Regions from separate parts of the Homo sapiens genome. Here region 2 is linked to region 1. The links are contacts of gene promoters, found by promoter capture Hi-C in blood cells and fetal thymus (Javierre and others, 2016). All regions are on one chromosome and are shown on one strand. Each heading gives the region's core, a stretch centred on a gene start or on the middle of the fragment in contact. The rest is flanking DNA. Distances are from core to core; before and after follow the strand shown.

Region 1 (7,863 bases), core at 3,063-5,562:
AACTCCATGATGTTCTCAAGACATTCTGGAATAGAGACTAAAGGAATGAATGTCCAGCATTCAGTTATTCTCTGTAAACCTGGAAACTTGTGACCACCACGGTCAGTTCTCTTAGGATATCACTGAATGCACAAAATAAATGACACACTCAGAAAGTGAGAAGTTACTTTGTACATCACTATACTTTCATTAAAGAGGTGAAGAAAGAAAAGGTTGTTGGTTGTCTTCAATTAATACAATTTTATTGGATTTTCTGCCCACATATTTATTTCAAAAAATCATAAAGGATTTAATTCCTTAGCAAATGTCATGGCTAAAGGCTTGTCTAGAGGTCCTAAATGCCAACTCCAGCATCACAATGTCATTCTAGTACGGCGGAGAACCATACAGAATGTCTGAAAATGTCAAAACAGGCTGGGCGAGGTGGCTCACGTGAAGTCAGGAGTTCAAGACCAGCCTGACCAACACGGTGAAACCCCATCTCCACTAAAAATATGAAATTAGCCAGGCACGGTGGCGCACGCCGGTAATGCCAGCTACTTGGGAGGCTGAGGCAGGAGAACTGCTTGAACCCGGGAGGGCGGAGTTTGCAGTGAGCTGAGATCGTGCCATTGCATTCCAGCCTGGGCAACAAGAGTGAAACGACGTCTCAAAAAAAAAAAAGTCAAAACAATGGGAAATTCTAGGAGCATGGAAGCTTAGAACTGTTAAATAATCTTACATAACTTCTATGACATACCTGTCTTGATTAAAAGTAGGCATTAAAAAAAAAAGGCTGGGCACAGTCGCTCACACCTGTAATCCCAACACTTTGGGAAGCACAGGTGGGCGGATTACTTAAAGGTCAGGAGTTCAAGACCAGCCAGGCCAACCTGGTGAAACCCCGTCTCTACTAAAAATACCAACAAATTAGCTGGGCATGGTGGTGGGCACCCGTAATCCCAGCTACTCTGGAGGCTAAGGTAGGAGAATCTCTTGAACCTGGGAGGCAGAGGCTGCAGTGAGCAGAGATCGTGCCACTGTACCGCAGCCTGGGCGACAGAGCAAGACTCCATCTCAAAAAAAAAAAAAAAAAAAACCAGCCTAACTACTCATGTGGCTGAGGCCAGAGGACTGCCTGAGCCCAAGAGTTCAAGGCTGCAGTAATCTATGATCATGCCACAGTACTTCAGCCTGGGTGACAGAGCAAGATACTATCTCAATAACAAAATATAAAAATAAAAGTTTTTTTATTTGAAAAAAGCCTAAGTAGCTGGAGCTCAAGAACTAAATTCTAGGCAAGGTATATGCCAAAGGAAAATACAACAATTAATCCCAAAACAATAGATAATGCAAAGCTTATAATGTGAATTAAGCCACTTCCATATTCTACAGTCTCTTATAAAAATCTCCCAAATTCCTTCAAAGAATACACCTAATAAGGAAGGTTTTATTGATATACACATAATTACTTGCATACATAAGAGATGGATTCAGAGGGAAAAAGGAAAGTATAGTATTTCAAATGGTCAAAAGATTTTTTTAAAATCTTTTTCTTACTAAGGCTGGCTGATATTTAGAAAGGGTCAAGCTATTCTAAAATGGTGATGTTTGCACAACACTGTGAATGTAATTATTTTGTTTATTTTTTTAAAGACAGAGTCTCACTATGTTGCCTGGGCTGGTCTCCAACTCCTGGGGCTCAAGCAATCCTCTCGCCTCATCATCCCAAAGTGCTGGGATTACAGGCATGAGCCACCCCGCCTGGTTGGTGAATGTAATTAAATCTGTCATGGAAAGTTTAAATCCGTTGTAAGAAGCATGTGAAGACTCCATGTTGATAAAACAACTTTCATAACCCAACACATTCAGATTAAAAACACGGCAAAACCCACCTCTACTAAAAATTTTTTAAAAATTAGCCGGGTGCGGTGGCATGCACCTCGTGGTCCCAGTTACTTGGGAGGCTGAGGTAGAAGGATCACTTGTACCTGGGAGGTCAAGGCTGCAGTGAGCTGTGATCTGGCACTGCACTCCAGCTTGGGCGATAAAGCAAGAACCTGTCTCGAGAAACCAAACCAAGCCCTCCACACATCCCCCAAACCTAACTCACTACCACAGTATGTTTGAAAAGCTAGGGATCTGTGCCAACACCCTTAGGAAAAAGTCTTTCCCTTCCCAACAATCTACTTATTAAGCAATAATTTTTTTTATATGTTAACCTGCAACACACCTGAGTTAATTTCACTAAACCACAATTAACTCTTAATTATCATGACAATAATGGAGAATAAAAGCGTCCATAATCAAATTCCAGAAATAATCCTTTTAGTACAAGAGCCTCTTCCCTGACCCCAGTTACATCAGGGCCCATGTCCTCTCTCCAAAAGAAAATAAAGACGTTTGGTGGTTAATGTTCCTTTTTCTAAACTTCATGTACAGCAGAGCTTACGGTCCAGAGAACTCAGTCCTCAAAGAAACTGATACTATAGCTATCTAACTGGATACCACCGGTAATAAATTACCCAAAGCTAAGATTTCACGCTTTTTAAAGCCCATATTAATAATGCCTGTCTGGTCATAAGTCACACTACCAAAAGGCTTAAATAAATTAATCCACATACATTACGGAGAAGAGCAAAATGCTTATGACAATATTAAAATGAGTGTGAAAAAAATTTAATTAAAACTAAACACTAGCGATAACAAATACTAATATATTTCAGAATCATTAATGATCAACACAATTAGAGGAAGATTCATTTTGATCCTTCAATTTCACCTTAACCCAAGGCTGTTTTAAATCGTGCCCTTTTTATCTTCCTGCTTTGTTGTCACTGAGGATCTCAATATGCCAGTAATAATGCTACGACATAAAATACACTATAAAGTAGCATTTTCATGGACTTTTTCAAGACAACTTCCACTGAGTTCTCAAGTTATTTACCCAGGATTTAGTCATACAGGATACCCACAGATTTTAATAAAGTGGCATGGCTAACCATCATGGAATTCAGGAAATCCATTAGCCAAAAAACTTAGGTGTACATGGTTTGTGAAGAGAGCTTAAGTGACAGGGCAAGCAACTGGTCTAAATGTTAGTATGCTACGAAAAAGTTGTAAACCCTCCCATACCCAAACAATTTAAAAATTTACAGACATGCACATTTTAAGGCAGCTAACATTAGGTCACAAATCAAACCAACGCTGTCATCTTTGCCTAAAGGCTGTTTATCACTAAAATATTCTACAGAATGGACGTAACCAAAGGTCACTTAAATAAAGATAGAACTAATTTTATTATTATACTGCCATACTACAACTACTACTGATTGAATTAAAATACCTATCCTCAGCACGCTTTTACTATAAAGTAGGAGTGCGTTCCCGTGTTAGAAAACTTTTAAAGTACTGATCTTACTGGGTGGGGTAAGTCAGGGTCCAACTGCACTTGTACTTTTATCCTACATATTTTCCTTCTACGTAAGACAGATGGGAATGTGATTAGCCCACCCCGACAGCACACCGGCCTAACACCCCCAAGCTCTAGCTAGGAGCCACGTTTTACCCGGGAAGACCGTTTCCCCACCCCTCCTTAATACAATGCCTGCGGCCACTGGAGACTCCTCCAGCCGAGCTCCAGAAACTCGCAGGTTTAAATGGCCAATCTGGAACCAACCGGGGCAGCTGTCATCTGAAACTCAGGAAAGCTGAGACCAGCCAACTCCACAGAACAAGGAAGGGTGCGGAAAGATGTGGCGGGGCCCGTCGGAGGGAACGCATCAAGCTCCCTCCCCCCGCCATCAATTCGCTTTTCTGCAACCCCGGCGCCGCCATCCTGATCCTCAATAATTAAACGGCCTGGAGAGGGAGTGAGGTGGCCAGAAGGGCAGCTTCGGGTCCGACTTCCCCGAGCCGAGCGGGGCGGTCGGCGAGGCCAAGGGCTACGTCCCCGGCGCTCAGAGGACTTTTCTTCAGGGCTGGGGCGGGAAGGGGCGACCCCCGCGGCTGGCAGGACAGCCGGAAGCGGAGCGCGGGGAATGACGTGGAAGAGGGGATGACAAAGGGGCGCGGGGGCCCGGCGCGGCCCGCGGGGGTCGGGACAGGTGGCCGGGCCTGGCCGGGAACAATGGGGGGCCGAGGCTGCCCCCTGGCGCTCACCTACCTCCGGTGCCCTCCGAGTTCTCGTTGAGGCTGCCCGAGGAGTCGTGCTGGGCGCCCACACACCCGCCCATGGGGGCCCCCGGCGCCTCGTCCGCCACCTCCGGACGCTCGTCCGGGCCCGCCGCCGCCGCCGCTGCAGCCTCCTCCGGCGCCACCGCCGAGCTCCGGACAGGCGCGCCGCTCCGCTCGCCCGCCGCGGCCCAGCCTCCGCCCCCCTCGCCGCTCCACCCACCGCCTTGGCTCGGCCCCTTCCTCCGCGCCCACTTCTACCTCAACCCCCGGGCCGCCCGCCCGGCAGGCCTGGCCCGCGCGCCGCCCTCGCCTTCGGCTCAGCCCCGCCAGGCCAGGGCTGGCCCATCCCGGGCGGGCCGCAGCGCCCGCCTCGCCCCCTCACAGCCCCGCACACCCGAGTCCAGGCGAGCCCCGCGCCGGCGCCTCGCGTCCGCCAGGACCCATCGGCCCCCGGCCCGCGGCGCCGCCCTCCGCACCCACGGCCTGGGCTCGGCCCGGCCCGCCCGGAATCGCCGGAGAAGGGCGGGGCCACCGGAGGCCGCGCTCTGATTGGCTGCGGGCGGGGCTGCGAGCGGAGCGGGGCGAGGGTGAGGCGGGGGAGGGGACGCAGGGGGCTAGGTGGGGGGAGGACTGCAGGCGGGGGGAGGACTGGAGGCGAGGGGAGGAGGAGAGAGGGAGGACGGGAAGAAGAAAGGAGAGGGAAGAAGGGAGGGAAAGCAGGAAAAAGCCGAACAAAAGTGAGAAAAGAGGAGTGGGAAGGGGCGAAATCGAGTTCCTGGCTCCTCGGCCGTCGGCTCCTTCTTGCTGGTGGAAGCGGGTCGCACGGGGGAACCGAGAAGTAGTCGTGGAAGACTCGCAGGCGGGGACGGGGCGGTTTCCCAAATAACGGGGGCTCGGGGGAGAGTGTCCTGGCCGAACGTTGAGGTCCCAGCGCCCTTTGAATTTGTATGGCGCTCCGTGGGTTGGTACCCCGAATCTGGGCTTCCTCTTGCCTGCCCACCCCCGTCTTCCCTAAAATCATGGGGCCCCATTATTAGGGGTGGAGGCAGTGGTTGTGGCAAACCAAACTGAGATTAGAGGCGAGGCGTCCTGATGGAACGCCTGGAAAGAAGAGATAAACGCTGACCTTAGTTCAGGGGGCGTGGGTTTCTTTCATTTTCACGGGATTAATGATTCAAACAATACTACTTATCAAGATCCTGCCTTTGGGTATCTTAAATCGTCCTTAGGCCAAAGTGAAGTGTAAATGAGTGAAACACCCTGCCTTTTCGAATCTAGAATTTGGGACATTGACCACGCCCAACATTCTTGGCGGTTACTTTTCCAATCTCAGCCAAATTGTTAATGGTCCCTTTAGAATTGTGCTTCGTGCTATGATGCCTTAAAATTGTTATCATCCTGCTTGGGACTTTCTAAAGCTTATTTCTGCCTAAGAAGCTGTTTTAACTATCTGCTCCATTTTTATATCAGACTTTCTTTTTTTAACATCCTGGGTCAGCTTTTGCTTAGCACGAAAAAAAATTTTTTAAGTTGAAATACCTAAGAAAGAGATGCTCTGCAGCTTGGGATTTGCATTTAAATATATTCTCATACATTGCTGGTGGGAGTGTAAATTGGTTCAATCTTTTTTGCAAAGCAATTTGGCAATGCAGATCAAGAGCCTTAAAAATGTTCATATCCTTTGACTCGGGATTATTCCACATCTGGAAATCTAGCTCACAGAAATAGATCAAGCTATTATACAAAGATTTAGATCTCTGTATTCATTTGATAAAAAGACAGTAGACAAGCAAAACCTACACTTAGGTTAAAACACAGAAATGTCGTGAGATATAGAAATCTGCTATATTAAACTCATCCTGAAGAATTAGTATTGTCCTCAGTTGTGGTCCTGAACATTCCAAAAAGAGCTTATGCCATCGATGTTATTATGAGTTTTCAGAGGTTGCTCTGACATCAGGGGCTGTGTCACAAAGCCTTCTGTCTGATCATTTTCAACTAACTATACACGTTGGCAGACACATCACTTCATCACTTCCCTGAAGAAGAGAAGCTGCATGCCGAATATTTGCAAAGAGATTGCTTTGTCCTGAATTTCACTCTAGAAATTGCAGAAACCAAGACTTCCACGATGTCTATTAAACAGATGGTAGGCACCCAAATGATGAGGGCTCTCCGATGAGCACTGAGGAGTTGGCACTAGGAAGAGAGAGCAATCTCGGGGAGAGATTCTCAGCAATAGATGTTCTCCACCCTGCCTTTATCTTAGAGACACATTTCCCAGGAGGCAGAGTAGTGTCGCAGTCAGGGCCCCAGCTTGGCGATTAACTTCCTGGATTGGAATCTGGCTTTCATCGTGTACTAGCTATATGGTCTGAAGTTTCTGCCAGACATGGTGGCTCACGCCTGTGATCCCAGCACCTTGGGAGGCTGAGGTGGGAAGCTCACTTGAGCCCAGCTGTTTCAGACCAGCCTGAGCAACATAGGGAGACCCTGTCTCTACGAAAAAATTTTAAAAATTAGCGGGGCGTGGTGGTGAGCGCCTGTAGTCCCAGCTACTCAGGGGGCTGAGGTGGGAGAATTACCTGAATCCAGAGAGGTGGAGGCTACAGTAAGCTGTGATCGCGCCACTGCACTCCAGTGTGGGTGACAGAGCGAGACCCTGTCTCAAAAAAAGAAAAAAGAAAGTTTGGCCGGGCACGGTGGTTCATGCCTGTAATCCTAGCACTCTGGGAGGCCGAGGCGGGCGGATCACGAGGTCAGGAGTTGGAGGCCAGCCTGGCCAATATGGTGAAATCCCATCTCTATTAAAAATACAAAAATTAGGCTGGGCGTGGTGCCTCATGCCTGTAATCCCAGCATTTTGGGAGGCTGAGGCAGGCGGATCACAAGGTCAGGAGATCGAGACCATCCTGGCTAACATGGTGAAACCCCGTCTCTACTAAAAATACAAAAAATTAGCCGGGCGTGGTGGCAGGCGCCTGTAGTCCCAGCTACTCAGGAGGCTGAGGCAGGAGAATGGCGTGAACCCGGAAGGCGGAGCTTGTAGTGAGCAGAGATCGCGCCACTGCACTCCAGCCTGGGCAACAGAGCGAGACTCCATCTCAAAAAAAAAAAAAAAAAAAAAAAAATTAGCCAGGCGTGGTGGCTCGCACCTGTAGTCCCAGCTACTTGGGAGTTTGAGGCAGAAGAATAGCTTGAACCCGGAGGGCGGAGGTTGTAGTGAGCTGAGATCTTGCCACTGCACTCCAACCTGGGCGATAGAGTGAGACTCCATCTAAAAAAAAAAAAAAAAAAAAGTTTATGTGGAGTTCAGTTTCCTCACCTGTAAAATTGGGCCAAAAATAATGCTCCAAACTCTGTGGGGCTTTTCATCAACTCTTTATTTCATGTCTAGCATCATCTATCTAAATTTACTGCAGGCAGGCACAGTGGCTTCGGCCTATAATCCCAACACTTTGGGAGGCTGAGGCGGGCAGACCGCCTGTGGTCAGGAGTTTGAGACCAGGTTGACCAACGTGGTGAAACCCCGTTTCTACTAAAAATTCAAAAATTAGCTGGGCATGGTGGCGTGTGCCTGTAATCCCAGCTACTCGGAAGGCTGAGGCAGGAGAATCACTTGAACCTGGGAGGCAGAGGTTGCAGTGAGCCGAGATAGCACCACTGCACTTTAGCCTGGGCCACAGAGCAAGACTGACTCCAAAAAAA
Region 2 (7,863 bases), core at 2,244-4,743, 150 kb before region 1:
CCCCTGCTCTCCAGCCCTTCCTCCTCCTGCCTTGGGAGCCCGTCCCCCTCCCCCAGTGGGCCTCAAACCTCACTGGAGGCTCTGACACCCAGAGGAGCTTCTTGGCTGCTTCATTTTCTGAAGAAGGAAAACTAAGTTGCTACGAAGACCTGAAGCTTCAGCAAACAGCCTCTTCAGCCAAGCCCACACCCTCCCTCCTCGCTCCCGCCTATGCGCCTGGTGCCCACCTGCCAGCTGCCCTGTTTCCTATGCTCCACAGCCAAGAACCTCAGGATGCCTTCCCCCGGCCAAGCTGGCCAAGTCCTCTCAGAATCCCAGCACCTGTCTCAGGCTCTCTCCATCTTCCAGAACCCTGGACCTTGCTGGCTCAGAACATCAGGGCCTTGAAGATCAGCTCAGATGGAGAAACTGAGGCCAAAAAAGGGGATGTAACTGACCAAGGCCACAGAGATTGTTCCTGGACTGGAAGCAGAGCTCCAAACCCTCAGGTCATTCATTCATTCATCATACACCTACTCCACACTGACAGGCTGCAGGCCCCGGGAGAACAACCAGGTCTAGGCCCTCAAGGGGCTCCCAGCCTAGTGGAGGGGCAGAAAGGACGATTACAGTAGAAAGGTCCTTCCTGACCTCGTGATCCACCCGCTGCACTCCAGCCTGGGCAATAGAGCAATAGAGGGAGACTCCGTCTCAAAAAAAAAAAAAAAAAAAAAAAAGAAAGGTTCTTCCAGCCCTGGTTCACTCCCATTCTCACTCTTTCTGGCCCACTCCGGGCTCTTTGCATAGATGCTTTTTCTTTTCTTTCTTCTTTCCTTTTTTTTTTTTTTTTTAGACAGACTCTCGCTCTTGTCACCCAGGCTAGCGTGCAATGGCACAATCTTGGCTCCATCTCTGGGGTTCAAGTGATTCTCCTGCCTCAGCCTCCTGAGTAGCTGGGATTAAAGGCACCTGCCACCACACCTGGCTAATGTTTGTGTTTTTAGTAGAGATGGGGTTTCACCATGTTGGCCAGGCTGGTCTCAAACATCTGACCTCAGGTGATCCACCCGCCCTGGCCTCCCAAAGTGCTGGGATTACAGGCGTGAGCCACCCTGCCTGACCTCTTTTTTCTTAAAGTAGGGCTACAGGTGGTTGAGGAAGAGGGATGGCGTCACAAACTTCAGGACAGGCAGAATCACCTCTTAGCTTCCAGCTCCTGGCCCCTGCTTGTTGTGAAGTTCCTTCAACCCAGCTCAGCAGAGGCCCTGGAGAGTGGGGCAGTCAAGAAGACCCACGCTGTCTCTAAACAGGAAAGAAACTCTCAACCATGGTCTAGCTGGACCAGAGACAGCTCTCCAGCCAGAGGAGGGTGGAGCAGCCTCAGGAATTTGATGAAGCCTCCAGTTTGTGGCTTACCTTCCAGGAGCCTCCTGGCAATGTAAATATGACCCTGAGGTCATGTGGGTCCTATGAGGATGTGGTGATGCGTGGCTTTGGAGCCAGTCACGGCTGGGCTCATGGCCCAGGTCCACCGCTCACTAGTGTGGCCTTGGACAGGTCACTTCCGTCCTCTGAGACTGTGTCCTCAGCTGTAAAATGGGGCTGCTGATGCTGTTGCTCTGAACTGGGACCCCATGGCTGGGCTACACTAGGGGTATAAGCCGGGCTGGGATGCACGAAACCACAGCAGATAAAACAGGGGACTTTAACGTGGGCCAGGGATACTAGAGATACTAGGTTCCAGGGGTAGCAACCATTCCAGGCCCTGCCAGGCTTGCCACTTGCCTTGGAGGGCTGTGTGCCACGGCAGAGAGCTGTGGAAGGCGGCACGGCCCACTTCCACACCACTCCCTGCTGAGGAGGAAGGAGGCCTTCTGGGTCACTCTGGTCCTGCCTGGTCATCAACAACGGGCCTGACCTCAGCTTCCCCAAGACTTCTCTCTAACACTACAGTGACCTGTCACCCTTGAATAAAAGTCATCAGAAATGGATCCATGCATGCTGATCCCGAACGCCAAGGAAGAGGTACTTCCTCCATCCACTTGTTCATTCATTCATTCGTCCATTCATTTGTTCCCTCTTACCCAACCACCACCTAACCAGCTTGTTCCCAGTGGCAAGGGAACAGACAGAGGTGACTTGGAAACAGGCAATGACCTTTTGAAGCACAGCATATCATTCTGCCTTGTAGTAATTCTCAGCTCCACGAAAGAGGAAGAAAAATTCTACTAACTGCTAGAAAAAAAACAAGCCACAAGAGGTGATGATGGAAAAGAAGCAAAACTCAGTGACCATGCAAGGCCACTTACTAGCTGGGCGACCTGTGAGATGGGGATGATACACCCTAACCCTCATGGGAATGATAAGCTCATCCAGGCCTTGACACGTGCCTGGCCCCAGGTCGGGACTCAGTTATGTGAGCTGTCACTATGATTCTTTCCTTGAGTTCATGGGTCTGTTTTTCTCATTTATTTTTGTTTGGGTTTTTTGAGGCTCTGTGAAAGCCATCCTCTCCCCTCTCACCCAGAAATGTTCCTGTGCCATTCTATTGAATCCTTCCACATCCTGAAGTTCCATCACCAAACCCTGGCTGGGAACCCCTGGTTAGCCTCCCTAACACCTACCATCTGTATGGCCTTGGACAACCGCCAATCCTCTCCGTAAAATGGGCTAATATTACGTGGCTCTAGGATTTACTGTAAGGAACAGATGAGGTGGTACTTATAAAGACCTAGTCCTAGGCTGGGGGCAGTGACTCACTCTTGTAATCCCAGCATATTGGGAAGATGAGGCAGGCAGATCACCTGAGGTCAGGAGTTCGAGACCAGCCTGGCCAAAATGGCAAAACCCCGTCTCCACTAAAAATACAAAAAGTAGCCAGGTGTGGTGGCGGGCACCTGTAATCCCAGCTACTTGGGAGGCGGAGGCAGGAGAATCACTTGAACCCAGGAGGCGGAGGCTGCAGTGAGCGGAGATCACACCACAGCATTCCAGTCTGGGTGACAGAGCAAGACTCTGTCTCCAAAAAAAAAAAAAACCGAAAAACCCAGTCCTAATACACCGTGGATATGTAACAAGGTCAGACACTTCCCGCTTCTCCAACAAGGTGCCAACACAGAGGAAAAGATTGTAAACCTGGGGTCGAGTCCTGGTGTGCCACTTAATTGACTACATGACCCTGGATAAGTCAATCTCCCTGAGCCTCCATTTCCCCATCTGTAAAATGGCCTAATCATCTCTTGCCTCCAACTTCATTGAGAAAGTTAAATGAGATTCCTTACATGAAAGAACAGCACAAAAGCCACACAGTTAATATGTGTTTGTTAAATCTCTACCAAATGAAATCACCAGTAAGTTTCATGCTTAGATCACGTCACTTAGGATTCCTACAAAAATATGCCTTCCTCTCAGTCTGATTCCTAGGGAAAACAAAACAAAACAAAGAAATGTCTTCCCAGAACTACAATTTCTTTATGTATTTATTTATTTTTGAGAACTAAAAGTTATGGACATGCCATCAGCTGTTTTTTTTTTTTTTTTTTTTTGACAGAGTCTCACTCTGTTGCCCAGGCTGGAGTGCAGTGGCGCGATCTTGGCTCACTGCAAGCTCCGCCTCCCAGGTTCACGCCATTCTCCTGCCTCAGCCTCCCGAGTAGCTGGGACTACAGGCGCCCGCCACCACATCCGGCTAATTTTTTGTATTTTTTGGTAGAGGCAGGGTTTCACCGTGTTAGCCAGGATGGTCTCGATCTCCTGACCTCGCGATCTGCCTGCCTCAGCCTCCCAAAGTGCTGGGATTACAGGCGTGAGCCCCCGCGCCTGGCCTGTCATCAGCTATTCTTAAGAGTCAGTATGAGAAGTGACCAAACCCAGGCAGTTCCTGCATCTTTCAGTGAAACTGTCCCTTACACAACACTCTTATACAACGTCCCTGTGCCCTCTCCAGAGGTCAGCACCAGGAAAGCTCGTGCATTCTGACAACCTGGCTTGCTTCCTCTTCTTTAGTTCAAGAGCTCCACAACCCCTTGAGCTTCCCTTTTATTTATTTATTTTTTTGCCTTGGCTGCTGGGAAGCTCTGGGTTAAGTTCCTCAGCTTTGGTTTGACTCCCAGGCCTTACTTGCTTTTTTTAGTATCTGGGTCTTAACATTTTTACCTTCAGCTTATCAGTGGCAGGAGGGCTACAGGGGATTGGTATTATAAACTTGTCAGGGCTTTTTGCAGAAATACATGGGGTTTAATTAATAAAACAATAGTCTCAACAGTAACAGATAAAATAATAGTTGAATGTATCTCCCAAAAGGCATGTGTTGGAAACTTAATCCCCAATGTAACAGTGTTGGGAGGTGGGACCAACAGTAATGGGAGGTGTTTAGACCATGAGGGCTCCACCCTCATGAATGAATTAGTGCTGATTATAAAAGGGCTAGAGGCTGTGAGTTCAGTTGCTGGCTCTCTCCTGCATGCCCTCTTGCTCTTTCCACCTTCCACGATGGCAAGAAGGCCCTCGCCAGATGCAGGGCCCTCAACCTTGGACTTCCCAGCCTCCAGAGCCATGAGCTAGATAAATTTCTATTGTTTACAAATTACCCAGTGTCAGGTATTCTGTTATAGCAGCATAAAATGCACTGAGACGATGGTAATAAATATGAATAAAATAATAATCTCAATGCTTTAGGAAATTACTACATATGCATGCTTAGAAAAAAGACTGGAAGCACAAAACCCATAGGAGGATTACAGGTAGTTTGTACTTTTATGTATTATATTCAATAAATATGTATTATCAAATTGTATATTAGAAATAAACATGACTTTTAAATTTTTAATTTTTTTAATTTTTTTAATTCAACCTAGGGGCTTTAGTTTTTTTTTAATGGAAAGAACTGGCCTAGAATAACCTACTGCTACAGATACAGCTATTCTTCTGATTGGGATGGGGAATCCGTGCCCACCCGTGATGAAGGTCCCAGTGGTCCAGTCCCCTGCTTCCTGGATAAAGGGAGGCTCCTCAGGATCGGAAAGCTAAAGGCCTCTAAGCCCTGATCAAGTCCAAAGTGAAACCGCCCCAGTGCTAAAAGGACGGATTCCCTGAACCTGTCAAGGGCATAAGCAGCCTATATTTGCAGGTGGCTCACGGTTTTCCTAGGACCTGAAGAACTGAGATTTGTGGTCAGTTTAATGCATTGATCATTATAAACTGAGTGTCTACCAGGGGCCCTACTTTGCTAGGCAACAGTAGGGGACACAAAAGTAGTATGTGATCAACAAACACTATCTGAGCTCCTAGTGCGTGGCAAGCCTGGGGACTGAGGACCCAGGGAGAATCAAACAGGTCCCTGCCCCAAAATCACCAGCTGAGGGAGATATAGAAATGAGTGGTGCAGGCACACGGTGACTATGTAACCCAGAAGCCTGTGGACACGGTCATTAACCTGCCTTAGAGCTATCCCAGAGGAAGCAGATATCCAGGCTGAGTTTTGAAGGGTGAATTTACCACGTGGGGAAGGGTAAAGGCACTCCTGGCAGAACACAGAAGCAGAGGTGGGGCAGCAGGGAAAAGCGTGGAAGCGGGTAATGGCGGAGCATTCCATGGGGTTCCAAAGGATGGGAATCCAGCAGGCTGGAGGTCAATTAGAACTAGAACTTGAACATCTCAAAGTATGAACCTAATCTGGAGAGCTGTGTGTGCGTGTGTGCGTGTGTGTCTGGGGAGATACACCAAAGGGTTTAAGCAAGAGGTGTTGTAGACAGGCTTTTGCTTTGGAAAGATCCCTCTAGATGCATTATTAAGGAAAAAACAGTGGGTTGGGGACAAACAGCGAAGAGGCCATTTCATGAGTCCTGATGTCCTGGGCACCATGGCTACCTCCCCCTCCACATACACCATGTCTTCCTTCCCCTTTGTGAAATAGCCATGAGAACTGGGTAGGACTTACTCATCCCCTGCAAGGGAGGGGTAGAAGCAGGGTGCTAAGCCAGTCAGGAAAATTTTCTGCCTCGTGCCCTGACTCAGGGCTGGTGTCATCAGAGCTAAGCTGGTGAGTTGTGCTTGATGGTGTGGAATGCCACGTCGTCTCACTCTGGAGCTAATTAGGAAGCACACAACTCTGATGGTTGCAGGAAACCATGTTGCAACCACGAGAGAAGTGGGTGTGAAGACAAAGCTAATACACAGAGGAAGACAGAGAGAATCACAGGAAAACGGAGAACAAGCCTGCTCCCTACTGACTTTTTAGGCAGAATATGCAAACGAATTAATTTCTGCGCTGTTTAGTAGGTTAGTTTAAGGTTTGCTGTCACTTGTTACCAAAAGTACCTGATCCCACGCTTGGCAGGAGATGATGAGTAACCACACTCTCCAGGTGGCAGACTCCAGGTTGTACCAGCTGAAAATGCTACACCAACGGCTCTCCAACTTGAACGTTCAGCAGAGTGCTTGTTAAAACAGATCACTGGGTCCCACTCCAGAGCTTCTGATTCAGTGGGTCTGAAGCAAGGTCCAAGAATCTGGTTTCCAACAAGTGCTCAGATGCTGCTGCTGTTGCTGGACCCCTGGTCACACTTTGAGAACTACTGCTCAATGGGAATTTATAAGAGCAAGAGGCCTGGACCCTGGGACCACATCTGTCCTCCCCTTAACAAAAGGCACTGTAAGATGTTGGTAGAGAAACTTGGGGGCAAACTGGCAGAAGTACTGCCTCTTTTATGCTCCTTGTTATCCTAAATTTCATCACCAGTGTTCCTTTTTATCTTGCCTCAAACCAAAGAGTGAGGGGCTTTGGTAGGATGTATGATCATCCTCATCAGCCTTTACCAAGAGATGGTTTGAGAAGCCCTGAGTATTCACACAGAAGCTTTGGGGATCTTCATTATTAAAGACCGTACTGCAGTCTGTTTCAATGAGTTTTTTAAAAAAATATTTCCATATCCTCCCATCTTTAAATAAAAATTTTGAGGACCTCTAAATATGTGTCAAAGGGTATATGGGGGTTAGTAAAAGACCAGATGGACAAAAATGACACCAAAAGCACAAGCAACCAAAGAAAAAATAGATACCCTGGACTTCATCAACATTGAACATATTTGTGCATCAAAGGACAGTATCAAGAAAGTAAAGGCTGGGTACAATGGCTCACGCCTGTAATCTCAGCATTCTGGGAGGCTGAGATGGGAGGATCACTTGAGCCCAGGAGTTTGAGACCAGCCTGGGCAACATAGGGAGACCTCATATTTACAAAAAAAAAAAAAAGGAAAAAAATTTTCATTAGCGGGGTATGGTGGCACACACCTGTGGTCCCAGATACTTGGGGGGCTGAGGTGGAAGGATCATTTGAGCTTGGGAGGTCGAGAATGCAGCGTGCAATAATTGTGACACTGCACGCCAGCCTGGGAGAAAGAACAAGACTTTATCTCAAAAAAAAAAAGAAAAAGAAAAAGTAACCCACAAATGGAAAATATTTGCAAATCATATATCTGATAAAGGACTAGTATCCAGAATACATAAAGAACTCATAGCACTCAAAAATAAAAGAGCAAATAACCCAATCTTAAAATAGGCAAAAGATTTGAATAGATGTTTTTCCAAAGAAGATGTACAAATGGCCACTAAGCATATGAAAAGATGCTCAACATTACTAGTCATTAGGGCAACACTAATCAAAACCAAAATGAGATACCACTTCACACATGCTAGAATGCTCAGAATTAAAAACATGAACAAGGCTGGGCACGGTGGCTCACGTCTGTGATCCCAGCACTTTGGGAGGCTGAGGTGGGTGGATCACCTGAGGTCAGGAGTTTGAGACAGCCTGGCCGACATAGTGAAACCCTGTCTCTAATAAAAATACAAAAGTTAGCCAGGTGTGGTGGCACACGCCTGTAG

The links. Contacts are between HindIII fragments. The CHiCAGO score rates a contact against its expected background, and 5 or more counts as called.
Region 2: a contact is called between a fragment that was not itself captured here and the fragment with the promoter of UBTD2 in region 1, in 1 of 17 cell types (activated CD4 T cells). The highest score is 6.6, in activated CD4 T cells.

The regions. Positions count from the first base shown.
Region 1 is chr5:172,279,452-172,287,314 of GRCh38, forward strand. It overlaps UBTD2 (ubiquitin domain containing 2), which reads right to left and starts at 4,313. Exons shown (of 3, transcript NM_152277.3): 1 at 4,145-4,313. The coding sequence starts at 4,214. It overlaps LOC100288254 (a long non-coding RNA gene), which reads left to right and starts at 6,146. Exons shown (of 2, transcript NR_130933.1): 1 at 6,146-6,304. RefSeq lists a silencer at 3,906-4,815 and enhancers at 4,390-4,990, 4,991-5,590. The HindIII fragment of the contact is 4,236 bases long and covers 1,336-5,571 here.
Region 2 is chr5:172,127,530-172,135,392 of GRCh38, forward strand. The region is part of intron 2 of STK10 (serine/threonine kinase 10); the gene reads right to left. Among named protein-coding and RNA genes, the nearest start is that of STK10, 57 kb to the right of the region's middle. The HindIII fragment of the contact is 6,680 bases long and covers 154-6,833 here.